Regions from separate parts of the Homo sapiens genome. Here all the other regions are linked to region 1. The links are contacts of gene promoters, found by promoter capture Hi-C in blood cells and fetal thymus (Javierre and others, 2016). All regions are on one chromosome and are shown on one strand. The core of a region is centred on a gene start or on the middle of the fragment in contact, and the rest is flanking DNA. Distances in the headings are between cores, read along the strand shown. Region 1 holds the start of RFT1 (RFT1 glycolipid translocator homolog). Region 2 overlaps NEK4 (NIMA related kinase 4). Region 3 overlaps NEK4 (NIMA related kinase 4). Region 4 overlaps NEK4 (NIMA related kinase 4). Region 5 overlaps ITIH1 (inter-alpha-trypsin inhibitor heavy chain 1). Region 6 overlaps STIMATE-MUSTN1 (STIMATE-MUSTN1 readthrough).

Region 1 (4,350 bases), core at 1,385-3,884:
GTAGAAGTGAAAGCATTTTTTAAGTGCATACAAATGAAAGGCATTAATACTTTCAGCATAGGTGGCTTAGAATTAAGATAGAACAAGCTCTCAAATTCTTGCAGAATAAAATGTAACCACAAAGCTACCTGAAGTGTCTACAGTGTAATTCGAGAAAGCATACAAGAATGAAAACACTCAAGAAACCATATAAAAATATGGTTATTAAAAAAAAAATCCGAGCGCGGTAGCTCACACCTGTAATGCCAGCACTTCGGGAGGCTGAGGCAGGTGGATCACTTGAGGTCAGAAGTTCGAGACCAGCCTGTCCAACATGGTGAAACCCTGTCTCTACTAAAAATACAAAAATTAGCCAGGTGTGGTGGCAGGTACCTGTAATCCCAGCTACTTGGGAGGCTGAGGCCTGAGAATCTCTTGGGCCCGGGAGGCGGATGTTGCAGTGAGCCGAGATAGTGCCACTGCACTCCAGCCTGAGCAACAGAGTGAGACTCCATCTCGAAAACAAAAAACAAAACACCATGTGTACATACTTATGTTAACCTCAAAGTTACCACTGTCTAAGAAACTTAATGTTCCAGGCCATATCCATGTCTCCTAATTGGTTTGAATAAAGGTTGCAGCTAATGAAACTGAGGTTGCTTACGCCACCCAGTATTTGCCACACACTGCAGTCCTTATTAGCAACACAGCCTTCATTTACTTCTGCAAAGAACTTTACAGCTTTTGTTTTAAGACAGGGTCTCACTCTGTTGCTCAGGCTGGAGTGCAGTGGCATAATCACAGCTCACTGAGGCCTCAACCTCACAGACTCGAGATCATCCCACCTCAGCCTCCTGAGTAGCTGGGACTACAGGTGCATGCCACCACGCCCATCTAATTTTTGTATTTTTTGTAAAGACAAGGTTTCACCATGTTGCCCAGGCTGGTCTTCAACTCCTGAGCTCAAGCAATCCTCCTGCCTTGGCCTCCCAAAGTGCTGGGATGACAGGCATGAGCCACCGCGTCCAGCCAACTTTACAGTTTTAACAAAAAGGCTCTCTCACATCTGTTAAATTATTTGACACTAAAAACAACGAGGTAAATGCACAGGAAGCAAGACTGAGGGTTAAGTGATTTCCTCACTGTCACACGGCAAGTAAATGACCCAGCTTGACCTTACAGGTAAGCCACCTGACTCGTAGTCCAGTGTGTTTTCCGTTATAACTTGTTTTCGTTTTATGAAGCCTATCTGAGTAGTAAGATATTATCAAAGGCTGAAAAAAAACCAACATTGTGGATAAAACAATAAACTCAGTTATTTATGTAGTGAAACAGAAAAAAAAAATCCCTAGGTAAACTTAGAATGGCTAACATTTACTAAGCACATATCACGTGCAAGGCACTCTTCAACATGCTTTCCATAGGTTATCTCATTTCATTCCTACATTGACTATTTTAAAAATACTTATTACCCTAATAAAAATAGCTACATTTATTAAGTACTTGTAGTGTGCCAGGCACTTAAGAGGCATGATTTCATCTAATCTTCCTAATGACCCTGTGAGGTTGCACTATGATTCTCATTTAAGATGAAGAAACTGATACAGAAGTCATCGGATTTATCCCGAAGGCAGGCATCTAGCAAGTGACAAGGCCCAAACTCAAGCCCCATTCTGCTTGGTTCTTTCTTCTGCCCTCCATGTGCCTCTCTAAGATAAGGGGTAGGGTAGATTCGGGACTTGTGTGAAGTAGGGTTGATTGGCTCAAGAGTGAGACAGAGAGATACTGAGCCACTTGACTTAAGAGGTTCAGCTCCTGGGGTTGAAAGAATCTTCAGATACCATTTGGACTAACTGGCCTGTATCATACCTGACAGATGACAAAAATTAGGGCCAAGAAGGGAAGTGACTTGTCCAAGATCACATAAACAGAAGATGCAGCCAACATGTATTAAATGCATACTAAGAGCCGGGTACTGTGTTAAGTACGTTTATTTGAATGATCCCAATCAATCCCTGCTTATGAGCTAAGTACGACATATTATTACCCCCATTTTACTAGTGAGGAACTCAGGCTCTGCAGGTGAAGTCACTTGTCCTGGGTCACGGAGCAATCCAAGCCTAACTCCAGATTTCTCTTCTTAGCTATGCCATATGGACTCTCGGAACTCAGTGGGACTCAAAGTTTGAGGAAGGTGTTTGATGAAGGAAATGAACCCCTTGCCTGAAAAATATCAGATTCTCGAGCACGAAATACCAGTCCCTCACCCCCGCCACCTGATCTAATTCACTCCTACTGCCATATGGGAAATAGAATGCTCAGAAGGAAAGCGGCTTGTCTGCAGTCACCCGGCCTAGACTCTAAAGGCAGGCTCCTATCTCCGGGCCAGGGTCCCCCCTCATCAATGCCACCGTCTCCGGTCGACCCCCCCACCCCCTCCATTGCGGGGTCCACCTCGGGACTGGGTCGGCCCTGGGGCAGGCTCTCAAGGGCCCAAGGGCTGCCATCCCGCGAATCCCGGCTGCAGTACAAGCTGGAACCTGAAGGGCAGAGAGTACCTGCAGGAGGAGACCGGAGGAGGCCAGCCGGGCCGCGTGGCCCAGCACCTCCTGGCTGCCCATAGCCTCCGCGCCAGGCTCAGACACCAGGAAATGCCGCCGCCACTCCGTTTAGTCGCGATAAGATGGCGTCACGGCGCGCCTCGCTGTCTGATTGATGGCCTTGAGAGAGGGGGGCGGGGCACGAGAAGTTCTGGTCCTTTAAGTGGGCCTGTCTCGGGCCGTCTGTTATGGCGCCTGGCTCTTTCTATTTCGGTAGGTTTTGCGCTGTCTGTCGCTTGTGCGCTGTCTGTCCCTCTCTTCCCCGTATAAACGAAATAGTGTGGCGAGTACTAAGAGATACCGTTAAAGAATCCAAAGTTCCTTCTCTGAGGCTTTCAGCCACCAACCAAGAAGCACTAACTTTCCTGGCCTCATCTGCCAAAAGGGGAACAAACTTCTCACTGGCCCGTTAAGAAGATTCTCACCATTGACCTTTGCTTACAGAATCACAGCCACAGACCCTCTGAATTAGGCTGGACAGGAATTGTCCTCATTTAACAGAGAAAGAACTGAGGACCAGAAGTTAGATATAGCACTGTTATGTGTATGGTTTTGTGAAATCCTTCCGAAAGCTCTGAGAATTGGCCCCTGTGGTTAGAGATGAGTAAAGCCTTGGAGATGGGAAGTGACTTGTTCGAATCTACACAACTTGTTTCCTGACTAAGTGGATACCAGGCTCCTGATCCTAAACTTATCACTCTTGCCTGTATGCTAGAAATTGTGAGGGCAGAGTGGAAGAAGGACTGGAAGTGCTTTGTAAAAAAATGTAAAGCGCCCAACATACACAATCAGCTGCTGTTCTGTCAGTGTTCTTATTATCTACCAAGCAGGCTGTAGGAAGCCCAGTCTTTCCCCAATCTCTTTCAGTCCTCACATGATTTGGCCCCAACCTATCTTCTACTACCTTTCACACGATCATTGCCCTTCCCAACACTATCTAGGCCATAGCCATTCCGAGTCCTTACTGGTCCTCAAACAGGCGGTGACTCACTGGCCTTTGCTCCTCCACCCTCTTTGTCCAAAGTGTCTTCCCTGACAGCACCCCTTGCCCTCCTAGACCACACTGTCCTGACTTTCCTGGCCAACCACAGCTGGTACCTGCTGTGGACTAAATGTTTGTGTACCCTCAAAATTCATATGTTGAAGCCTAATCCCCAGTGTGATAGTATTAGGAGGTAAGGCCTTTGGGAAGTAATTAGGTCCTGAAAGTGGAGCCGTCATAATGGGATTCATGTCCTTATAAAAAGAGATGTCAGAAAAATGATCTCTGTGTTTACTATTTGAGGATACAGCAAGAATGTAGCTGTCTGCAACCACGAAGAAGGCTTTGTAAAATGTAAGGCGCCCAACATACACTTAACAGGAACCAAACTGGCTAGCACCTTGATCTTGGGCTTCCAGCCTCCAGAGCTGTGAGAGAAATTTCTGTTTTTGACTTACCCAGTCTATGGTATTTTGTTACAGCAGCCCAAGCAAATCAAGACAGTACCCCTAAAATACTCTGTACCCCTTTATAGTTCCTAATGCAATCTGCATTATAGCAGAAAGACTAGAATATGTGTCTCTATATAATCAGCCCATGAGCTCCAAGAGGGCAGAAGTGCAGCCTGCCTGGTTTTGCTTCCTGAAGTAGCGGTACAGAACATTCTTAGGGCTCCTATAAATGTCTCCTGACACATGACTGCTGCTACTGCTGCTGGAAACAGACTGTGGAACTCAAAGCCTATCACTCCCATCTTCCCAGGTGAAATGAGCTCTGTCTTAGTGTGGA
Region 2 (4,350 bases), core at 912-3,411, 410 kb before region 1:
CGAGGTGGGCGAATCACTTGAGGTCAGAAGTAAAAGACCTGCTTGGCCAACATGGTGAACCCCCGTCTCTACTAAAAATACAAAAATTAGCTGGGCGTGGTGGCATATGCCTGTAGTTCTGGGTACTTGGGAGGCTGAAGCAGATGAGTAGCTAGGACTACAGACAGCTAGGACTACAGACACACACCACCATGCCAAGAACCCAGGAGATGGAGGTTGTAGTGAGCTGAGATCGCACCACTGCACTCCAGCCTGGGTGACAGAGCAAGACTCTGTCTCAAAAAAAAGAAAGAAGCAGAAAAAAAAAATTTTAAGAAATAATGCCTGAATACTTTACAAATTTATTGAAAAACATTGATCTACATGTCCAAGAAGCTAAATGAACTTCCAAGTAGGATAAACTCAAAGAGATCCACAGACAGACACATTAAGGTTAAAGTGCTGAAAGTCAAAAACAGAGAAAACCTTGAAAGCAGCAAGATGAAAATAACTCATCAGAAGGCAACACCAATAACATTCACAGCTAACATCTCCTCATAAACAATGGAGGCTAGAAGGCAGAAGGATAACATTTGAAGTGCTCCAAAAAACTGTCAAACAAGAATTCCATATCTAGCAAATCTATCATTCAAAAATAAAAGTGAAATAAGGAAATTCCCAGATAAACAAAAGCAGAGAATGTGTGGCTAGCAGACCCACATTACAGGAAAACGAAGTGAAGTTCATCAAGCTAAAAGGATGAGACCCTACACAATAACTCAAAGCAATGTGAAAACACAAGAGTGCTGGTAAAGGTAATTATAAAACACAATACAAACACATTTTGCCTCTCCTTAACTAATCTGAAAAGCTACTGTATGAAACAATACTATAGAAGATGGCAGAGTAAGAAGCATCAGGAATTCATCTCCTCACTCAAGCAAAAATTGTATCTCTTCACTCAACCAGAAATTGTACTGACAGAATCTCTTTTACGTAACTATTTAAAAACTCTGGATTCTCTTGAAGGCTGGAAACATCTGGCGGAAGTCTTAGAAGCTAAATTGTGGTTCACTTCAGCCCCAAGCACTCTGCACCCAGTGGAGACAGTCATGCTGTTCCTGAAGCAGCTTGCATGCTGCTTGCAAGAACCAGGGTAGGCAATAAGAAACCAGTCCTCCAAGTATCAGGGATCTCTGTACTGATAGCTGATTGCTGCTTCTGATCACTGAAGTACAGATATAGAAGCAGGAAACCAATGTTGCAACCATCACTGACACTGTTGCAAACCTCCCTCCCTCTAGCTGAAGTGACTTCCTGGGGATTTAAAAGGCTGGTGCCTTTATTTCTCCCCACTTTATTTTTTTTCTTTTCCCCCTTTTGGGGGCCATACATTGAAGGAGCAGGATGTTCCAAAGCCACTGGGCACGGTGGCTTATGCCTAGAATCCCAGAACTTTGGGAGGCCAAGGCAGGAGAATTGCTTGAGCCCAGGAGTTCAAGACCCGCCTGGGCAACATAGGGAGACTCTGTCTCTACCAAAAAAAAAAATTTTTTTTAATTAGCTAAGTGTGGTGGGGCACGCCTATTGTCCAAGCTACTAAGGAGGCTGGGACAGGAGAATTGCTTAAGTCCAGGACGCAAAGGCTGCAGTGAGCTGTGATTACACCATTGTACTCCAGCCTGGGTGACAGAGCAAGACCCTGTCTCAAAAAAAAAAAAAAAAAGTAACCACATTTACAGGGGAATTTGGAAAGTTACCATGCATGTACATGCCCAGGGGAAAACACAGATTCAGACATGAGAAGGACCTTAAGTTTATACCTGTGACTAATCCCTGGTGATAGTGACAGGAGGTGGCCAAATACCTAGGCAGATGGGGCAGGTTCCCAGTGAAACCCCACCTTCAAGCCAAATCAGTCCGAAGGCTGAAAGACCAGACTGCTGGTCCTGGATGAAACCTGTGATCCAGAGTGGGAACTTCTGTTCCTCTTTGCTCGCCCTTTCCCAATTGATACTTTCTGAATAATGCCTTTTAACCAATCGAATGTTGCCTTTTCTAATACTACCTACAGCCTACCCCTCCCTTATTCTGAGCCCATAAAAAGCCCTGGACTCAGCCATATTAGGGGGACTTCCCCACCTTAAGGTAGGGGGACCACCCTCGCATCCCCTCTCTGCTGATAGCTGTTTCATCACTCAATAAAATTCTTCTCCACCCTCCTCACCCTTCAACATCCAGCGTATCCTTATTCTTCTTGGGCAAGGTCCGAGAGCTCAGAAACTGCTGAACGTGGGTACAAGCTATAACACAAGTGAGCTGGGGCACACCAGCATGGCTGAGCGAGGCCTGGGTGGGGCATGGCCAGCCAGAGGTCCCTGGCTTGCAAAGTGACTGAGAAGTAAATCCTACATCACTGGCATGGAGGACCCCTAAATTATCACATGATAAAAACTCAAATGTCCAGTTTGAAAACAAAAACAAAAAACCACAAGACATAAAAAATAAGTATGGACCATTCAAAGGAAAAAAACAAAAGAAATCAATAGAAATTGTCCCTAAGATCAGATGGCAGACTTATTAGAAAATGATGTGGCCGGGCACGGTGACTCACGCCTGTAATTACAGGACTCTGGGAGGCTGAGGCAGGCAGATTGCTTGAGGCCAGGAGTTTGAGAGTGGCCTGGGTAACATGGCGAAACCCCGTCTCTACAAAATGTACAAAAAAAATAGCTGGGTGTGGTGGCATGCTCCTACAGTCCTGGCAACCTGGGAGGCTGAGGTGGGAGGATGACCTGAGCCCAGGCTGCAGTGAGCCATGACTATTCCATTGCCCTCTAGCCTGAGCGACAGAGCGAGACTCTGTCTCAGAAAAAGAAAGTTATGTAATTATGTGGCCAGGCATGGTGGCTCACACCTGAAATCTAAGTACTTTGGGAAGTCAAGGCAGGAGGATTAGTTGAGACCAGGTGTTTGAGACCAGCCTGGGCAACATAATGAGACCCTGTCTCTACAAAAAAATTTTAAAATTAGCTAAGTATGGTGGCATGTGCCTGTAGTTCCAGCCACTTGAGAAGCTAAGGCGGGAGGATCACTTGTGCCCAGGAGTTTGAGGCTGCAGGGAGCTATCACTGCACCACTGCACTCCAGATAGAATGAGACCCTGTCTCAAAATAAAATAAAATGATGTATAAATAAAACAAATATCAGTAAAGAGAAAGACATAAAAAGAAAAAAAGAATTTTTTTTTTGAGATGGAGTCTTGCTCCATCACCCAGGCTGAAGGGCAGTAGAACCTGTGACCTCCATCTCCCGGGTTCAAGCGATTCTCGTGTCTCAGCCTCCTGAGTAGCTGGAATTACAGGTGCATGCCACCGTGCCTAATTGTTGTACTTTTAGTGTAGACGGGGTTTTACCATGTTGGTCAGGCTGGTCGAACTCCTGACCTTAAGTCATCTGCCTGGCTCAGCCTCCCAAAGTGCTGGGATTACAGGCATGAGCCACCATGCCCGGTCTGAAAAAAAGAAATTCTGAAGATGAAAAGTACAATAACTGCAATGAAAAAGCAGATCTGAGCAAGGACAAGAAAGAAATAGTGAACTTGAAGATAGGATAATTAAAAGTATCAAGTCTGAAGAACAGGAAGAAAAAAGACTACAGAAAGTGAACAGAGCTTAAAGGACCTATAGAACACCATCAAGCAGCCCAACGTAAGCAATGTGGGAGTCCCAGAGAAAGAGGAGAGAGAGGGGATCAGATAAATGATCTGAAGAAATAATAGCTGAAAAATTCACAAGTTTGATGAAAGACAAATATTTAAAAGACAAAATAAATATAAACATCCAAGAGGCTCAACAAACTCCAAGTAGGATGAACTCAAGAGTCTACACTGAAATACATTATAATCAAACTGTAAAAAGACACAGCCAGGCTTAGTGGCTCACACCTGCTATCCTAGCATTTTGGGAGGCCACGGCGGGTGGATCACTTGAGGTCAGGAGTTCAAGACCAACCTGGATGACATGGTGAAACCCTGTCTCTACTAAAAATACTAAAATTAGCCCCATGTGATGCCACATGCCTGTGATCCCAGCTACACAGGAGGCTGAGTCACAAAAATTGCTTGAACCCGGGAGACAGAGGTTGCAGTGAGCCAAGATGGCGCCACCGCACTCCACCCTGGGGACAGTGAGACTTTGTCTTAAAACACACACACACACACACACACACACACACAAAACTGTCAAAAGACAAAGACAAAGAGAGAATCCTGAAAACAGCATGAGAGAAGCAACTTATCACATACAAAGGATAAGATTACCAACGGGTTTTTTCATCAGGAACTGTGGAGGCCAGAAAGCAGTGGGCTAA
Region 3 (4,350 bases), core at 1,256-3,755, 390 kb before region 1:
GACCCTTCCACAAATAACAACTATAAACTCTAGAAAAAATACAAAACTCAACAACGTAAAGGGAATGCAGAATAAACAAAATCTGCAGGCAGATCTTGGAGAAGAGTCAACACCTTTAAGCCTAAGAGCAGGCCATAGGCAGATCAAAGTACAAGAGAACTCACAATCTTGTGGGCCTACAGAAAGGACAGAGTTCAGAACAACCACTGTCACTAGAAAGTGAGACAGGAACCTTGGAGACAGTCTAAAAGAAACAGCCCCAGATTCTGTGTACAAATTCTGCCTATTTCAAAGTAACTTAACTATACTCAAGTACAAAGCTCAAGAATATTTAAAGAAACACAAAATACCAGCTTCCAATGAGGTAAAATTCAGTGTCTAGCATCCCATCAAAAATAACCAGATGGGCAAAGAAGCAGGAAAATATCATACATTTGTGAAGAGAAAGAAATCAGTTAATAGAAACATATCCAAAAGTGACACGACTGATAGAATTAATAAATGAGGACATTAAAATGGGTAGTATAAATATCTTCCATATGGCCAAGGTAGAAGAAAACATGAACATGTTAAAGAGAGACACAAAGACATTAAAAAAAGACCCAAATCAAATTTCTAGAAATGAAAGATACAATATATTAAATACACGGGATAGGATTAACAGATTAGACACTGCAGAAGAAAAGATTAATGAACTCAAAGACATAGCAATAGAATCTATGAAATGTGAAACAGAAAAAAAGTAAAAACAGGCCAGGTGCAGTGGCTCATGCCTGTAATACCAGCAGTCTGGGAGGCCGAGGTGGGCGGATCACCTGAGGTCAGGAGTTCGAGACCAGCCTTGCCAATATGGTGAAACCCAGTCTCTACCAAAAATACAAAAATGTAGCTGGGCGAGTGCCTGTAATCCCAGCTACTCGGCGGGGCTGAGACAGGAGAATACCTTGAACTCAGGAGGCAGAGGTTGCAGTGAGCCAAAATCATGCCACTGCACTCCAGTCTAGATGACAGAGTTAGACTCTGTCTCAAAAAATAAATAAATAAAATAAAATATATTTTTAAAAAGTAAAAATAAACAGAGCATCAGTGAGCTGTGGCACATATTTAAGGAGCCTAATATACATGTAATTGGAATCCCTAAGAGGGCAGGAAGAAGTCCAAAAAAAAAATGTGAAGAAATAATGGCCAGGCGGGGCGTGGTGGCTCACGCCTGTAATCCCAGCACTTTGGGAGGCCGAGGTGGGCAGATCACGAGGTCAGGAGATCGAGACCATCCTGGCTAACACGGTGAAACGCCATCTCTACTAAAAAAATACAAAAAACTAGCCGGGCATGGTGGCGGACGCCTGTGGTCCCAGCTACTTGGGAGGCTGAGTCAGGAGAACGGTGTGAACCCGGGAGGCGGAGCTTGCAGTGAGCGGAGATTGTGCCACTGCACTCCAGCCTGGGCAACAAGAGCGAAACTCCGTCTCAAAAAAAAAAAAAAAAAAAAAAGAAGAGACACTTTTAGCTCCAGCATATGCCACAAACCATTTATAATTTTATCAGTGGGAATACTAGAGATCTAAATACTACTGAAAATGCACATTTAATATTCATTAAAACAGAAATAGTTTATAAAGGGAGACAGAAAAACAAGAACTTACCCTTCCCCGTAATCCCCATCTGACTTATCAGTTGAACTTGTAGAAGAACTTAACTCATCCTCAGACAGACAATGAATCTGTTTCCTTTCCTATTAAATGTTTGGAAGAATTAAAATTCTACATGACAACACAACCAGAATGTGATACTTGAACCAGTCTTAGATGCAACAACTAGACACAATACGTTCCTAGGTGCAATATAACAGGAGAATCTAACAAATACAAAAATTGTTCCCATATGATTTGTGGCAAAAAGAAAAAAACATTGAAGTGATTTTACCCGTGATATCCCAGTTCACTCATAAAGTCCACAAGAATAACTGAAGAACATCAGATGAAGTTTTTTATTTTGTTTGTTTTTTTTTTGTTTTGATTTTTGTGTTTTTTTGAGACAGAGTCTTGCTCTGTCGCCAGGCTAGAGTGCAGTGGCACGATCTCGGCTCACAGCAACTTCCGACTCTCTGGTTCAAGTGATTTTCCTGCCTCAGCCTCCCGAGTAGCTGGGATTACAGGCACGTGCCGCAACGCCCAGCTAATTTTTGTATTTTTAGTAGAGACAGGGTTTCACCATGTTGGCCAGGCTGGTCTCCAACTCTTGACCTCATGATCCGCCTGCCTCAGCCTCCCAAAGTGCCGGGATTACAGGCATGAGCTACCGCGCCTGCCCAAGGTGAAGTTTTACAAAGGTCCTGGAGAGTCTCAGCTGTGAAGAAATTTCCAGAGGACAGTGGATGGCTAGTTCTGGTTTATCAACTCCTAAGCAGAAGGCTTGTTCTATAGGAATGTTGGCATTTTAAATTACCTAGGCAAACTCAGCTTGTCTTTTTTTTTTTCTTTTTTTTGGATACAGGGGTGTCACTATGTTGTCCAGGCTGGCCACAAACTCCTGGGCTCAAGCAATCCTCCTTCCTTGGCCTCCCAAGTAGCTGAGATAACACCCACAAGCCACCATGCCCAGCTTCAGCTTGCTCTTAATGTGAGACTGTTAAAGTGCTTTAAAGGATCACCTAAAAATACACATAAACCTTACAACTCTGAGATATGGAAGGCAGCCTCTATTAGTGAAATAACTAAATGATATAGTTAAAGAAATAATACATCCAATACTTTCAAAGAACAGGAAGAATTCCCAGAGTATTATACAGAGAGGTGAACATGGGTTAGAAACCTAGTAATTACCCATTTAGCCACCAGATGGTGTCCCTACATCATCTACAGGCAAGAAGGTAAACTACATTGACACAAATAAGAAACTGAGGAATGATTAGCAAGTGAGACTCAAATCTGGCGACACAGATGGGTATGTTGGTATCACAGCAGATTGAGCAAAGTGCTGCCTAGTGCAAGCCCTTAGAAAGTTCTGTTATTTATTTACTTATTTATTTATTTATATTTTTGAGACAGAGTCTTGCTCTGTCACCTAGGCTAAAGCACAGTGGTGTGAACACAACTCACTGTAGCCTCAACCTCTTGGGCTCAAGTGATCCTTCCACCTCAGCCTCCCGAGTGGCTGGGACTACAGGTGTGCGCCACCTTGCCAGGTAATTTTTTTTTCTTAGAGACAGGGTCCAACTATATTGCCCAGATTGATCTCAAACTCCTGGGCTAAAGCAATCTTCTCACCTTGGCCTCCCAAAGTGCTAGTATTATAAGCGTGAGCCACTGCATCAGGCCAGGAAGTCCTGTTAAGACCAACCTATGAAATATTTTTAATTAGGCTATCAATTGTTTACAAGAGTACCTGAAAAATTTATTCCCTTAATGGGTCAATCATAATCCTTTTGACTATTATTTACCAGTTCCTTTCTTTATCAAGAGTGAAAAGATATAACAAGCTGGCCCTGTCCCAAAAATAAATGGAGCTGACATTTAAAAGGTTTACTGCATTAGGCCTGCCAGATGTAGACTGTCCACCTTCTCTCTTAGGAGTACGTAATGCACCTGAGTGACGCTGCAGTCAGAGGAGAGCCGTCGGGCAGGCAAGGGCTGGTCTTCTTCCTGGGGTTTTCCTGGCCCTGCTACACTCAGAGACGCTTTCCTCACTGAAGGGCCTGAAAAGGCAAACATCCCCAGTAGTTGTTTGTGGTGGGCTGCCCCAGTTGAAAAGGGCTTTGTATTTGGTATGGAACATACCCCAGCAGGAGCTAGCCCAAAAGTAAGTCAAACAGCATATTTATCATTTCTCTGGTGTCTGACACCTCAGTTGAAATCTTAGCTCTAGGTCCACCAGCTCTGTGACCTTGGGCAAGTTACTTAACTCCTCAGAGCCTCTGTTTCCTTAGCTGCAAAATGAGGATAATGCTGCATATTTTGGCAGTACTGTAAATGTGAAATGAGATAATACCCTTAATATGTTTACCATAATGCCTAAGACATGGTCAGCATTCAATAAATGGAAACTGCTAGTACTATCTTTAAAAAATATTAAAAAGAATGATAGCCCTCAGCCTACGGCAGCACCACTCCCCAAGCAACCTCCCTCTGTTCCTAAGATGGGAGCAATTCACTGAACAGTGGACACTGGACATGGAAAAAAGTTAAACATTCACTTGATTTCTGGTCTGAAACCTCCCAGGACTTACTGCCACTCAAAGCCCTCTTGTTATTTCTTTAATATCCCCCTCCTCTGATATTTGAACCACATTCAACACCCTATGATGATTTCTTAAAAGACTTGACTAAGAAATTTCAAAATCTTTTCCAA
Region 4 (4,350 bases), core at 719-3,218, 370 kb before region 1:
TCCAGCCTACGTAACAGAGCAAGATCCTCTCTTAAAAAAAGAAAAAAGAAAAAAAAAAAAAAAGCCTGGGCACAGTGGCTCATGCCTGTAATTCCAGCACTTTGTTTGGGAAGCCAAGGTGGGAGGACCTCCTGAGCCCAGGAGTTTGAGACCAGCCTGGGCAACATAGTAAGACATTGTCTCTACAAATAAAAAAATTAGCCAGGCATGGTGGCATGCTGTGGTCCCAGCTACTCAGGAGGCTGAGGTGGGAGGATCACTTGATCCAGAGAGGTGGAGGCTAGATTGAGCCGTGATCGCAGCACTGCACTCCAGCCTAGGCAACAGAGCAAGACCCTGTATCAAAAAAAAAAAAGCAAAAGCTTTAGCAGATATTTCTCCAAAGAAGACATACAAATGGCCAACAAGCATGTGAAAAGATGCTGTATGTCATTAATCGTTAGGGAAATACAAATCAAAAATACAATAGGATACCACTTTACACCCACTAGGATGGCTAGAATCAAAAAATCAGAAAATAATTAGTGCCGGCAAAGATGTGGAGAAACTGGAACTCTTGTGCACTGCTGATGGGAATGTCAAATGGTGCAGCCACTGTAGAAAACAGTGCAACAGTTCCTCAAAAAGTCAAACCAAAAAAAAAGTCAAACCAAAAATTACCATTTGACTCAGCAATTCCACTGCTAGGTATGTACCCAAAAGAACGGAAAACAGGTACTCAACTACTTGCACACTTATGTTCATAGCAATAGCCAAAAGGTGAAAAAAACCCAGATGTCTACTAATGGATGAATGGATAAACAGTGGTATATCCACATAATGGTAGCCAGACCTAAAAAGAAATGAAGTATTCATACATGCTACATGGATGAACCTTGAAAATATGCTATGTGGAAGACACCAGAAACAAAAGGATATATTTAATGATTCTATTTACATGAAATATCCAGGACAGGTAACTTCATAGAGACAGGAAACACACTGGTGGTTGCCAGAGGCTGGGTGAAGGACAAAATGGGAGTGACTGCTTAATGAGGAAGAGATTTCCTTTGGGGTGATGAAAATGTTTTGGAACTACATAGAAGTGACGGTTGCACTACACTGTGAATGTACTGGCCACATTTAATTGATCACTTTATTTATTTATTTTATTTTATTTATTTTTATTTTTATTTTTGAGACAGTGTCTCATTCTGTCACCCAGGCTGGAGTGCAGTAGTGCAGTCTTGGCTCACTGCAACCTCCACCTCCCAGGTTCAAGCGATTCTCCTCCCTCAGCCTCCTGAGTAGCTATGACTACAGGTACATGCCACCACAGCCAGCTAATTTTTGTATTTTTAGTAGAGATGAGGGTTCACCATGTTGGCCAGGCTGGTCTTGAACTCCTGACCTCAGGTGATCTGCCAGCCTCGGCCTCCCAGAGTGCTGGGATTGCAGGCATGAGCCACCGCGCTCAGCCTTAACTGTTTACTTTAAAATGGTTAATTTTGTTATATAAATTTCACCTAAAAAATTCTTAAAGTTATTACAGCACTGACTTTGTGAACAATTTGACAGCCCAATTTGGATAAAGCTAAATCAATCACCTTAACCAGTATTCTTTCTTTACAGTAAGGAATTAATTGTACAACAGAATCTCTAGTAAAGCATAATCATTTCACACAAAATAATTTGCTTAGATGGCCCATTTTTCTAAGTGCAGTTTCTAAAACACATACCCTTTAAAAAGAAACGTACCATTATATATGTCTGGGAGCCCTCAGAAGAGAGTGGTTGGGGGTGGATTACTTCATGATTTGATTCTGCCTCTCCAGAAACCACTGTAGCAAAAGGCTTGGATTGAGAGTCACCATTTTTAATGTTATTTTTGGAGGTTTTTCTTTATAAAGAAGAAAAGAAAGAGTTATTATCAATATACTGAAGATTAAGGGTTTTTAGGTATATGTGGGAGTGTGTGTATACAATGAATTCCCTTACAGAACTGCACCATTTATAGAGAATAGTTTTCTAAAAATCTAAGGGGCATCCTACAAAACACCTCACCAGTAGTCTTTGAAACAATCAAGGTCATAAAAAATAAACAAAGTGAGAAACAATCACAGACCCCTGATTAGATGTACTATATCCTGGATTGGATCCTGGAACAGAAAAGAGACATTAGAGAAAAAAACTGGTGAAAGCCAAAGAAAGTCTGGAATTTAGTCAATAGTAATATTTTTCTTTCTTTTTTTAAAAAATTGAGACAGAGTTTCACTCTGTCATCCAGGCTAGAGTGTAGTGGCGTGATCTCAGCTCACTGCAACCTCCGCTGCCCAGGTTCAAGTGATTCTTGTGCCTCAGCCTCCCGAGTAGCTGGGACTACAGGTGCACGCCACCACGCCCGGCTAATTTTTTTGTATTTTTTTTTTAGTAGAGACGGGGTTTTGCCATGTTGGCCAGGCTGGTCTTAAACTCCTGACCTCAGGTGATCTGCCAGCCTCGGCCTCCCAAAGTGCTGGGATTACAGGCGTGAGCCACCATGCATGGCCAAGTCAATAGTAATATTTCGATGTTGGTTTCTTAGTTTTGACAAATGCATTAGGGTATGTAATCTGGTAATCACAGAAGAAACTAGATGAGGGGTATACAGGAACTCTCCACTCTATCTTTCCAACTTTTCTGTTTATACAAAATTATTCCAAAATAAAAATTCTATGGGAGATTGCCTCACATACGGGAGTATCAGGTTAATTTTCATTTTCAAATTTTACATGTCTGTAATAATACCACAACTGCTTGGCTAACTTTGAGAGTAAAACTGATTGGTACACTTAGTCCTGCTTATAGAATAAATGCATACAGGAATAACATCCCCAACTATTTTAGTATGTCATTTCTAAAACTGGGCTAAACCTCTGGAGAATTCAAGAGGAGCATGGAGATCAGTACACTGGAAGGCCAAAGGTCTGCTTGGTGGGAAATTATGTACACAAAAAGATGGTTCTTCTTTATTCCCTGAGGCATCTCTAGCACTGCCTCCTCTCTTTCCAAATTTAACATGCCACAAGGCAAGAGGAGAAGCCAAACAGATTGTAATAGTTTTGTCCAGCCCTAAGTCTTAGATCCTGGAACACCTGTTTAGTAAAGGTAGGATCTGCAAGCCAAAGCAAGGAATTCTCTTGGGAAGTTAATGTGAATGAAGAGGGAACTTTATGCAAGCTCTCAGAAATGTGAGCACTACTTTTTAAATATTACTATCTTACACAGTAAGATGTATAGGTTTCTCAGATAATCTCTAATTATATGATTTCTAAAACATATGCCCTCTTTTTTTTTATTATTATTTGGCTGCTCCTTGAGAACAGGACTAACTCATAGGCAGTGAGCCCAGAGTAGTGCATATGTCCTTTAAAAAAAAATTTACACTATATGTCTTAGAACCCTCTGAGGAATGTGACAGTGGTTCTCCAAATTTCTGATTTTAGCAATTAAGCAAATTTCAACATGTATTTGAAGACTGGGAGAATATGCCACGCCAAAATATGCTACTTTGGCATAAAGATTATTTTGGGCTAAGGTTCTTTAAAAAGTAAGTGCAAGCTTTGGGAGGCCGAGGTGGGCGGACCACGAGGTCGGGAGTTCAAGACCAGCCTGGCCAACATGGGGAAACCCTGTCTCTACTAAAACTACAAAAATTAGCCGGGCACGGTGGCGGGTGCCTGTAATCCCAGCTACTGGGGAGGCTGAGGCAGGAGAATTGCTTGAACCCGGGAGGCGGAGGTTGCAGTGAGCTGAGATCATGCCACTGCACTCCAGCCTGGGTGACACAGCAAGACTCCATCTCAAAAAAAAACAAACAAAAAAAAGTAAGTGCAAGAAGGGCACTCTGATCTTCCCTTTTTCTTCCAGAAAGCAGAAGATAAAACTCCCATATGAAATACGTCCTCCCTGTACCAGAAGGAAAGTAACATTCTTATTATCAAGAATGGAAAGCTGAAACTGAGAGAATTCTATAAACAGACCTTATTAAAATAATTCTTATCTTCCTTTAGCCTCTCCACCTAGTTTACTTTTCCACAATTGCCTCTCTTTGTTCAATCAAGCAAAAAGCATTTAGGTTTTGCCACTTCTTTGTATTTTTAGTAGAAGTTAGGTCTTCATTTCCTTATGAGGGCTCCTGTGTCACATAAAACTTATTCAGGTATTAAAGAAATCTACATGCTTTTCTCCTGTTAAATTATAAGTTTAATTCTCAAGCTCAGCCAAGAAACCCTAAGAGGGTAGAATTTTGCCTCCTCTACATATGTAATCATGCCATTTTATTTCTTGTTTTTAAGAAAACTCACCATTAATTCTTGCATATGAATATTA
Region 5 (4,350 bases), core at 761-3,260, 350 kb before region 1:
TGAAGAGAAACCATATGCAGTATGAAATTGTCATCAAAGTCAAGCCCAAGCAGCTGGTGCATCATTTTGAGGTAGATCACAGGTCCCGGGGCAGGGGTCCTGCCCCTCTCTCCGTCACCATGGCTCCCAACACTGGTTGAGCACCCACCATGTGTCACCACCCAGGCCTGAGAACACAGGGATGGGGACTAACCCCTCAGGGTGAGCTCTGATGTGCTCTTCTTGGGCAGGGAACTCCCTGAATTCTCTAACTTCCTCTTTATCTCTGAGCTTCGGTTTGCTCATCTGCTAGACGGGGGGTTTCTGTGAGTCCCAGGACCGCCACAGGGATCACGAGAAGTACTGAATGTCCAGGTAATTTTGTAAACTAGAAAGTCCCGCGCAGCCTGAGGGCCTGGAATTATTGCTGGCACCTAAGTGGTGGCTGAGTTGAGGGATGCAGGCATGTACACCTTCATTTGGTCAGTATTTTTGGAGTGCCTACTGAGTACCAGGCCCTGTGATCAGGGCTGGGTGGGTGCTGCACACAGTAGGTGGCCAGGACACATGCTGGCTCTTGGCTGAGACTTGGTGAGTGGGAGCCCTGGTAGAGAATTTGCTTCAGTGTGGTGTGAGCCTATAATCCCAGCTACGTGGGAGGCTGAGGCAGGAGGACGGCTTGAGCCCAGGAGTTTGAGGCCAGCCTGGGCAACAAAGCAAGATCCCATCTTTTTTTTTAAAAAAATAATTTGCTTCAATGTTGCAGATTGATGTGGACATCTTCGAGCCCCAGGGGATCAGCAAGCTGGATGCCCAGGCCTCTTTCCTGCCGAAGGAACTGGCAGCCCAAACTATCAAGAAGTCCTTCTCAGGAAAAAAGGTACATGGGATAGCAAGGGGGTGGTGGTGGGCCCTTTGGAGACTTCTCAGCCTGCCCACCCCTTATGGAATGTCCAGCCTTAGCCCAGAAACCAGGCAGGGGCTGTGGTCTGCCCTCAGGATGAGAGAAGCTGGTGTCATGTGATTGGTGCCTAGGAGAACTCAGCTATCCTGGTTCTCAGAGCAATTTAGCAAAAGCCTGCATGCTGAGGTGGGGAAGGAGCCAGCTCCAGCTCCACCACACACGGGCTGCATGGTCCAGGGTGAGTTGCTGGCTTGCTTGAGCCTCAGTGCCCTCTTTGCCCGCCTCACGCCCATGGGAGAGCATTCAGGGAAATATCCAGCACATAAGTAAACCTCATATGCTGGTGTGGTTAGGACTCCAAGCTTCAGGTTTCTTGGAAACATAAGTTTGGAAAGACCTTTGGCCTACCCAACGACTTGTCGCTTGCCACTATTTGCAGGAATCCCAGAAGCCCCTGGCTCACCCCCACCCCAGGTTCCTGGAGGAGTGTGGTGTATGGATGGGCAATGCCCTGCTTCCTGACTTGCCCCCAACCCGAGCCAGGAACAAATCCTTTAGTTCCCACTTATGTAGAGCCTGCACCACAATTCATTTAAAAGAAGTGCTTCTTACAGTTTAGAGGGGTTTCCTTTTAAACTAAATATGACACCTCAAGAGTGTTAGCAAACATGCTTGCTTTCTGTGGGGGAACAAAGGGATGGGTCCTTGTCTTCCCAAGACTTTTTCAAGGTTCTATTTTATCCTCCATCCTTTCTCTCCTCTTCCTCCTCCTCCTTCACCTCCTCCTCTTCTTTTTTTTTTTTTCTTCTTCTTCTTCTTCTTCTTCTTCTTCTTCTTCTTCTTCTTCTTCTTCTTCTTCTTCTTCTTCTTCTTCTTCTTCCTCTTCTTCTTCTTCTGCTTCTTCTTCTCCTTCTCCTTCTTCTTCTTCTATCTTCTCTTCTTCTTCCTCTTCTTTTCTGCTGCTTCTTCTTCCTTTTGCTTCTGCTTCTTTTTGATGAGCCTACCTTACTTTTATAACAAACAAAAATTTCTTTATAGAAAAATATATGAAGTCCAGGAATATAGAAAGTATTGAATAAAAACCATCACTAGCTTCCCCAAGCACATCACCAACTCCAACCAGACCTCAGCTTCCATTCTGCACCCTTCCTTCCAGTCTTTGTTCTTTGTCAACCTGGGCAGCTTTTATTTCTCACCACAGTATTGTAGTGCTGCTTTTTCACTCAACAGTTTGAGTTGTCAGATGTATCACATTGCTATTATTTTGTTATTATTTATATACCCAAAGTGATGATGTTCATTGTAGAAAATCCCAATGATTCAGAAGCATATAAGCAAGGGAATGGGTCATCTCTCCCACCACCTACAGGTGTGTGCTCTCAGCAGCTAGGTGAGTGAGTGGCCCACCGAACTCGTTTCTCTGTCCGTGCAAACACACACACACACACACGCATGCCTTCTTATGTTGTCTTTGCAAACATCTTGTTTGTGGTTACACAGACCAGTAATGGCTCACACTCTCGACGGTTCCAGGGTCATGTGCTGTTCCGTCCCACCGTGAGCCAGCAGCAGTCCTGCCCCACATGCTCTACATCCTTACTGAACGGGCACTTCAAGGTGACCTACGATGTCAGTCGAGACAAGATCTGCGACCTCCTGGTGAGCCCTGAGCTTCTGGCTCAGCACCCAGAGGATGGGCAAGGGGTGCTGTGAGAGTGGCCTCACTCGTTCTCCTCTATTTCAGGTGGCCAATAACCACTTTGCCCACTTCTTTGCCCCCCAAAACCTGACAAACATGAACAAGAACGTGGTTTTTGTGATTGACATCAGTGGCTCCATGAGAGGCCAGAAAGTGAAGCAGGTAGGCTGCAGCTTGAAACAGCTCACCCAGCAGAAGCTTCCACAGCCCCATCACTCACCACATGCCAGTTTTGCTGCCAGAGTCTGGTTTGGGATTTATCCTCCTGGTCAGAGGCAGAGTGATTTAACAGGAAATCCCAGTGGTTAGCATCTCTGGAATCAGCATCGCTTCCTCACTGTGCAGTCGTGAGGAAGTGCATTCACCTCTCCTCAATGGCAAAAAATGGGAATGACAATGGTGTCTGCAGGGTCATGGAGTTACCCCCTGGGGGAAGTGCTTAGAAGAGGAAACCTGTGCACTACAATTACGGTGGTCCGTGGGGAGGCATCTTATAGCAGGGAATAGCTCTCCGCCCACAGGGTTTGGAGTGCCCTGTCCATGGTGCAGTGTAGACATGGCTGGACAAGGAGTATTCTAGAAGCACAGCTCCTGGGGTCCTTTCTCTTAATCCTGCCCCTCCCGAACTCCTGATTATTTCTTTTCCCCATGGTGGGTTCCTTTGCCTTCTCCACCTCCCTCATCCACCCCAAGGCCCGGCAGGATGCTCCTGTCTCGGGGCCACCTGGTTGTCCTATCTCCTCCTGCTTGTCCACCCTGTGGATCTCTGAAATGGGTATTTGGAGTTGGAAGGTGCTGTCCTGGGGCCACCCTGGGGCCCTGTCTGTCTACTGACTGTTCTGTCCTTGCAGACCAAGGAGGCACTCCTTAAAATTCTGGGGGACATGCAGCCAGGGGACTACTTTGACCTGGTTCTTTTTGGGACTCGAGTACAATCGTGGAAGGGCTCGCTGGTGCAAGCATCTGAGGCCAACCTACAAGCAGCTCAAGACTTTGTGCGGGGCTTTTCCCTGGATGAGGGTAAGGGTGGGGGTCTCAGGCAACCTTGATGTCACCTCTGTCCCCTCAGAATGAGGGCATACACTGGTCTGCTTTCTCTTCCTTGCAGCCACAAACCTGAATGGAGGTTTGCTCCGGGGAATTGAGATCTTGAACCAAGTTCAGGAAAGCCTCCCAGAACTCAGCAACCATGCCTCAATACTCATCATGTTGACAGATGGCGATCCCACAGAGGGTAAGCACCTTGGGGGCTGCCTTGGGAGGTAGTGATCTCCTTGTCACCCGAGACATGCAAGCTGAAGTTGGAAACCCAACCATTGGAGATGCCATCAGGGGGCAGAAAAGCTCAGGGCAAAATCAAGCACTGGTCTAAAAACACAGCTCAGACCACAAAGTCTGAGGGAGCTCTATGGTGTACCTCTGTCCTGTGAGTTGAGAAATTGGAGATGTTTCTAAATGACACAGGTCTGTATGAGTCCCTGGAAGATGGGCAAGATTCCATGCTTCTGTTCACAGTTTAATGAACTATTTATTTATCACCTACTGTATGCTAAGCAAGGGGCTAGGGACTGAAATACCAAGGGAACAAGACATATTTCTGCCCTCAAAGAGCCCGGGACCTACTGGGGGAAGCAGATCCAGGAGTAGATACTGAGGGCCCTGAAAGAACAGGGTGCTTGAGGCTGTGGAACCATAGACAAAGGACACCTGACCCAGGGGGATGTCCGGGAAGGCCTCCTGGAGGAGGTGACTCCTGAGCTCAGTCTAG
Region 6 (4,350 bases), core at 872-3,371, 290 kb before region 1:
TGGTCTGTCCCTCCAGGGTGGGGGACACCCAGGCTCGGTGTTTACCCTACCCCTCAACCCCAGGCGCCTGTGAGTCTGAGACCTGCCTGTGCTTGGGTGCAGGTGCAGGTATTTCCTCGCTCAGCCTGGGCCAGGCTCCTCAGAGCAACACACTATACCCCTGTACAGCGATGCATCCAGCTGTGTCCCTCCAGCCTCATGTGCACACACATACAGCTTCATGCATATACCATACACAGAGACAGACAGACCTATGTGTGTGGCCACACACAGAGTGCATGGCTGCCGGGCCCATAGCTACAAATGCACAAAGCTCTACACACTGAGCTATATCGGCAGCACACACACAGATGCGCACACACACACACACACACACAGGCACATGCAAAGATCTATCTAGGCCCCCCCCACCCCCAACATTTCTCTCCACTCCTCCTAACAAACCGTGGAATACCACCAAAGCCACATAGAAGAGGGGTTCTTCAGGGGGTCCTCCCTGAGCCCCCATCTCCCAAGGGCTGCAGAGCCTCCAGTTCATGCTTGGGGCTCAGATCAAGACACAGCTGCCAGAGCCGAAAGTGTCCAGGACTCCACCTCCACTCCCTCTGGCATCAACACAGCCCTTGCTGGGTCCTCCTACCTGGGACATGGTGGGTATTGTGTAAGCGCTGGGTCTCTGAAGGCGCCTCTCTGGCAGGCAGCAGCTGCTGGAAAAGATCTGAGTGGAGCCCAGCCTTCTGAAACTTATATAGCCTGCTTGCTTGTCCCGCAGAGTCACTGCCCCTCCTCTGACAGGCTCCCTGATGATTCAGGTCCGCAGGGTCGCTGGCTTCAGAGTTTATTCTCGGAGATGAGAGGGGCTCCCAGTACTGCTGCCTGGGGGCTGCAGCCCTGATGAAAGCAGATGGCTGCAGAGACCCTTTGCCCTCTGGGACAGCTGCTTGATTCGCCGGGGGGAGGTGCTGGCACTGACGGACATGCTTTGTGTTTACGGATTTGGGTCCTGGAATGTGTGACCATCTGAATTGTTCCTCTGCAAGGGTTCATCCCAGTGTGTGGGGTGGGTGTGGGGTGTCCCTGAGGGAATGGAGGGCCCTAGCTGGGTTGGACTGCTCCAAGCTTGTTTTTCTTCCTCTTCCATCCCTTCCCCTGGATTCCAGTGGACAGATTTTCCATCCCTGCATGGTGGCAGAGCAGGAGCTTCCCGTGTCTGCTGCGTCTGATTATGGCAAGCTCACTGGGCCCTTGCAGCAAACTCAGAGAGGGGCTACCACAGGTTCACAGGTGGAGAAAGTGAGGTAAAGGGAGCCTGGGGAGTTGCTCATGTTTTTGCTGATGTCCTTGTCCTCTATCCTATTCCAACTGCAAGTTCAGAGAGGGGGGAGTAAGGGGTCTGGAAAGGACCAGGGAGGAAACCATGCTCGATGGTGACAGCACTGATGAGACAGAGGTGTGAAACAGGCTCAGGCTCAGGCCTGAGCCTACTCACCTCCGAGTAGGTGAGGCCACCGCAGGGGGGCTGGCCTGCAGGACAGTTTCAGTTGCTCAAAGAGGGTGGGGGAGAGTGAAGCCCACTCCAGATACTGAGCTGCAGAGACAAGAACAGGCCCAAGGGCTCCCCGGAAGGTCACTTAGCTCTCCTTTGCTAGAAGCTCCTAACACACCCCTCCTTGCAAGGGGAAGATCCCCCAGGGCACAGGCCAGGAGCCTACGCCTGGGGTGGGTATGGGGAATAGGTGTGCATAGGTCGCAGCCCTCCCAGTAACACACATATCTAAGTCCTTTTCAGTTTATGATGGAGATTATTTTTATCCTCGAAGGCTCCAGGCAGATGGAACTCAACCAGGCACTGACATTTGGTTATCCCAAATGCCACTCCATTGCTGTCATACTTTGAACCCCACCCCAATCCCCCTCCTGACACCCTGGCTCCAGGAGGCCAATGAGAGGACTGCCAGGCTTGATCTGAGACAAGTGCTGACATGAGGAATGCCCAGGATGTGGCACATGGGCCAAGAGGCAGCTGAGGGCAGGCCAGGCCTTGTGGGGGCCTTCCACTAGTTCCAGGGGTGCCCCTGCAGATGGCACCTGATGCTGCGGCTCTGCCCAGGGACCTCCTTCCAGCCCCGCAGCCTCAGGGACAAGGATGTGGGCTACTCACTGCTTATACTCTACCTCCCCAACACGATGTCCTCCTCAGAGACGGACTTGCTTTAATTCTCACTAGCGAAGAAGTGGAGATGGACATGGCAAGAGCATGTTTGGCTTTTCACTGGGCAGTTGCTGGCTCCCACTCCTGCCATGAGGCTTCGTAAGGTTCCTTCTCACTCTGGTCCCTGGGGAGAACCTTCTAATTCACAGGGGAATCTTTTTTGACCCTGCCAAGCTGTTTCAACTCCAGAGAACCCACAACCACAACCACAAATGTGATGGTTTCTTTTTAAAAAAAACTGTAATAAGATGCCAAACTTTATTGTAAACCATTTTACAATGTAAGTACATCATCTTCTCTTTCATTTCAAAAAAACGTTTCCATGAATCCTACCACCACCGATTAAGCACCCCCACTGGATGGCTGCTGAAGTGGGCCATGGTTTTCCTTGCATAGGTCTGACTTCTAACAAACTTCAGGAAAAGAAAAATCAAATTTAAAACAACCCAACCAACCAACCACCAACCAACCCAGGAGCTCAAGGTGCTTGTGGCAAGTCAGACCATAAGTCCCTTACCAAAAGCCAAGCCCCTCAGAGCTGCTAATGTTTCACGAAGTAAAACAGAGAGCTCTGCACTCTTAGCTGCAAGCGTGTGAAACTTCTAAAAGCCAGCCCCACATTCTACAAGGCAGCTGCTCTGGCCAGTGGGAAGCTCCTTGCACTGCCTATCTTAGCCTGGCTGCGAAAAGGCCAGTGAACTGCAAGGGCAGAGTGAGCTGCCAGCTGGGCGCTGCTCCCTCCAGGGTTCTGAGGCAGCCTTTGGACATAAACTTGGGGCTGCACCCTACAGGCTTACACTGTCTAAGGGAAGTCACAGCTTGGATTTGAGCCTTTTAATATTTTCCCTGAAGAAAGAGGCATGACAGGTGACATTAACCCATGACTCCCTGTTGCCAGGGAGGGCACAAGTTAAAGCTTGAGGAAGGAGGCCACCAGCACGGCTGAGGGGCCACAGACCCTCCTCTTGCATGTGTGCAAGCTGAGTGGACCAAGAAGCCACCACCACCTGGATCTCACTAACATCCCCCCTTGCCATTGTCAACAACCCTCTGACAGCAAAAGGAAGTAACAGTACCAACCACCTCTTCCATTTGGATATGACAGTTCTACCTCATTAGTTTATTTCCAATAGTTACAAGAAATTTGTTCATGACCTTGACTTGCAAGGTTCCACCACAGGTGGCTTGGCTGAGGTCCAGATTTGGACAAATCAGATTCATAGCACACAATATCCAGCCAACGTCCCACCATTTCTCAACACGGTGATGGATGCCATGTGGCCAGGTGAAGAGCTGCACCTCGTAAGGCACCTTGGAGCAGGTGGAGAGGAAACTCATCCCAGGGAGGGAGGGCAGCTCGGGAGGAAGTCCTGACCACAGCCCTCTGATCTGCTCTCATGGGATGGTGCACCACGGAAGAGCCCCCAGTGACTGCAGGAGGCACTCCTGGGGATACAGATTTGTGTGTGTACATGTGTGTGCACGTGCACGTGCACACACACACACAAACACACAAGAAAGGGAAGGCCAAACACGAGAGGTGTCCTATGGTCAGACACCCTATTAGACCCCCGTCCCCTGGTCAGCCAGCCAGCTACTAGCCACAGCTCAGAGACTAAAGCCCTTTCTGAAAATCAGGATACAGGGAAAAACCACCACTCTTCAGCTACCTCTTTGTTCCCCAAACCCTCTGCTCACTGGGAAGTGGGCAAAGCCTTCAGATGAGACCATCTGAGATCTATATAACCCAGGGTTTGTTTCACAGCTTTCATAGATTATGGCTCTCCTATCCCCTGCCCTGTCTGGAAACATTAGGAGCTCAAGACTGAACATGAAGCTCCAATTGTGAGCTCCAGGAAGGTGGAAGAAACAGCTGCAGGCACAGGTTGTTCAAACCAAAATGAAACAGGAGGGGAGGAATTAGAACTGAGTCAGTGATGCCATGAGGGAATGACCGTCCTGTCAGGAACATGAGTCTTGGTCTTCCTAAATTCGACTGAGAATGGCCTGGTTCTAGCCACTCTTCCCCACTAGAGAGCTGCTGGGGAAATACTGGCTACCATAGCTGTGGATGGGAGGGAGCACAAAGTCAATCCGAGCAGGAATGACACCAGCAAAGTTGCCTCCTACTGTAGTTA

What was found. Contacts are between HindIII fragments. The CHiCAGO score rates a contact against its expected background, and 5 or more counts as called.
Region 2: a contact is called between a fragment that was not itself captured here and the fragment with the promoter of RFT1 in region 1, in 3 of 17 cell types (M1 macrophages, naive CD4 T cells and non-activated CD4 T cells). The highest score is 5.5, in M1 macrophages.
Region 3: a fragment that was not itself captured here is called in contact with the fragment with the promoter of RFT1 in region 1 in 4 of 17 cell types (total CD4 T cells, naive CD4 T cells, non-activated CD4 T cells and 1 more); the score reaches 7.2 in total CD4 T cells.
Region 4: a fragment that was not itself captured here is called in contact with the fragment with the promoter of RFT1 in region 1 in 1 of 17 cell types (total CD4 T cells); the score reaches 6.7 in total CD4 T cells.
Region 5: a fragment that was not itself captured here is called in contact with the fragment with the promoter of RFT1 in region 1 in 1 of 17 cell types (naive B cells); the score reaches 5.0 in naive B cells.
Region 6: a fragment that was not itself captured here is called in contact with the fragment with the promoter of RFT1 in region 1 in 2 of 17 cell types (total CD4 T cells and naive B cells); the score reaches 6.0 in total CD4 T cells.

The regions. Positions count from the first base shown.
Region 1 is chr3:53,127,801-53,132,150 of GRCh38, forward strand. It overlaps RFT1 (RFT1 glycolipid translocator homolog), which reads right to left and starts at 2,635. Exons shown (of 13, transcript NM_052859.4): 1 at 2,538-2,635. The coding sequence starts at 2,600. RefSeq lists enhancers at 2,491-2,680, 2,691-2,740, 2,781-2,980, 2,991-3,040. The HindIII fragment of the contact is 8,425 bases long and covers 1-4,350 here.
Region 2 is chr3:52,720,048-52,724,397 of GRCh38, forward strand. The region is part of intron 15 of NEK4 (NIMA related kinase 4); the gene reads right to left. Among named protein-coding and RNA genes, the nearest start is that of SPCS1, 16 kb to the left of the region's middle. The HindIII fragment of the contact is 4,732 bases long and covers 1-4,350 here.
Region 3 is chr3:52,739,765-52,744,114 of GRCh38, forward strand. NEK4 (NIMA related kinase 4) reads right to left here. Exons shown (of 16, transcript NM_003157.6): 12 at 3,588-3,697; 13 at 1,647-1,735. Among named protein-coding and RNA genes, the nearest start is that of NEK4, 29 kb to the right of the region's middle. The HindIII fragment of the contact is 6,871 bases long and covers 1-4,350 here.
Region 4 is chr3:52,759,058-52,763,407 of GRCh38, forward strand. NEK4 (NIMA related kinase 4) reads right to left here. Exons shown (of 16, transcript NM_003157.6): 6 at 1,738-1,879. Among named protein-coding and RNA genes, the nearest start is that of NEK4, 9.7 kb to the right of the region's middle. The HindIII fragment of the contact is 3,217 bases long and covers 361-3,577 here.
Region 5 is chr3:52,779,524-52,783,873 of GRCh38, forward strand. ITIH1 (inter-alpha-trypsin inhibitor heavy chain 1) reads left to right here. Exons shown (of 22, transcript NM_002215.4): 5 at 1-71; 6 at 746-859; 7 at 2,417-2,542; 8 at 2,628-2,744; 9 at 3,434-3,602; 10 at 3,691-3,816. Among named protein-coding and RNA genes, the nearest start is that of ITIH1, 4.1 kb to the left of the region's middle. RefSeq lists an enhancer at 1-182. The HindIII fragment of the contact is 1,535 bases long and covers 1,244-2,778 here.
Region 6 is chr3:52,834,300-52,838,649 of GRCh38, forward strand. The region is part of intron 8 of STIMATE-MUSTN1 (STIMATE-MUSTN1 readthrough); the gene reads right to left. It overlaps STIMATE (STIM activating enhancer), which reads right to left. Exons shown (of 8, transcript NM_198563.5): 8 at 2,434-4,350. It overlaps MUSTN1 (musculoskeletal, embryonic nuclear protein 1), which reads right to left and starts at 720. Exons shown (of 3, transcript NM_205853.4): 1 at 641-720. The coding sequence starts at 649. RefSeq lists an enhancer at 3,151-3,320. The HindIII fragment of the contact is 2,009 bases long and covers 1,118-3,126 here.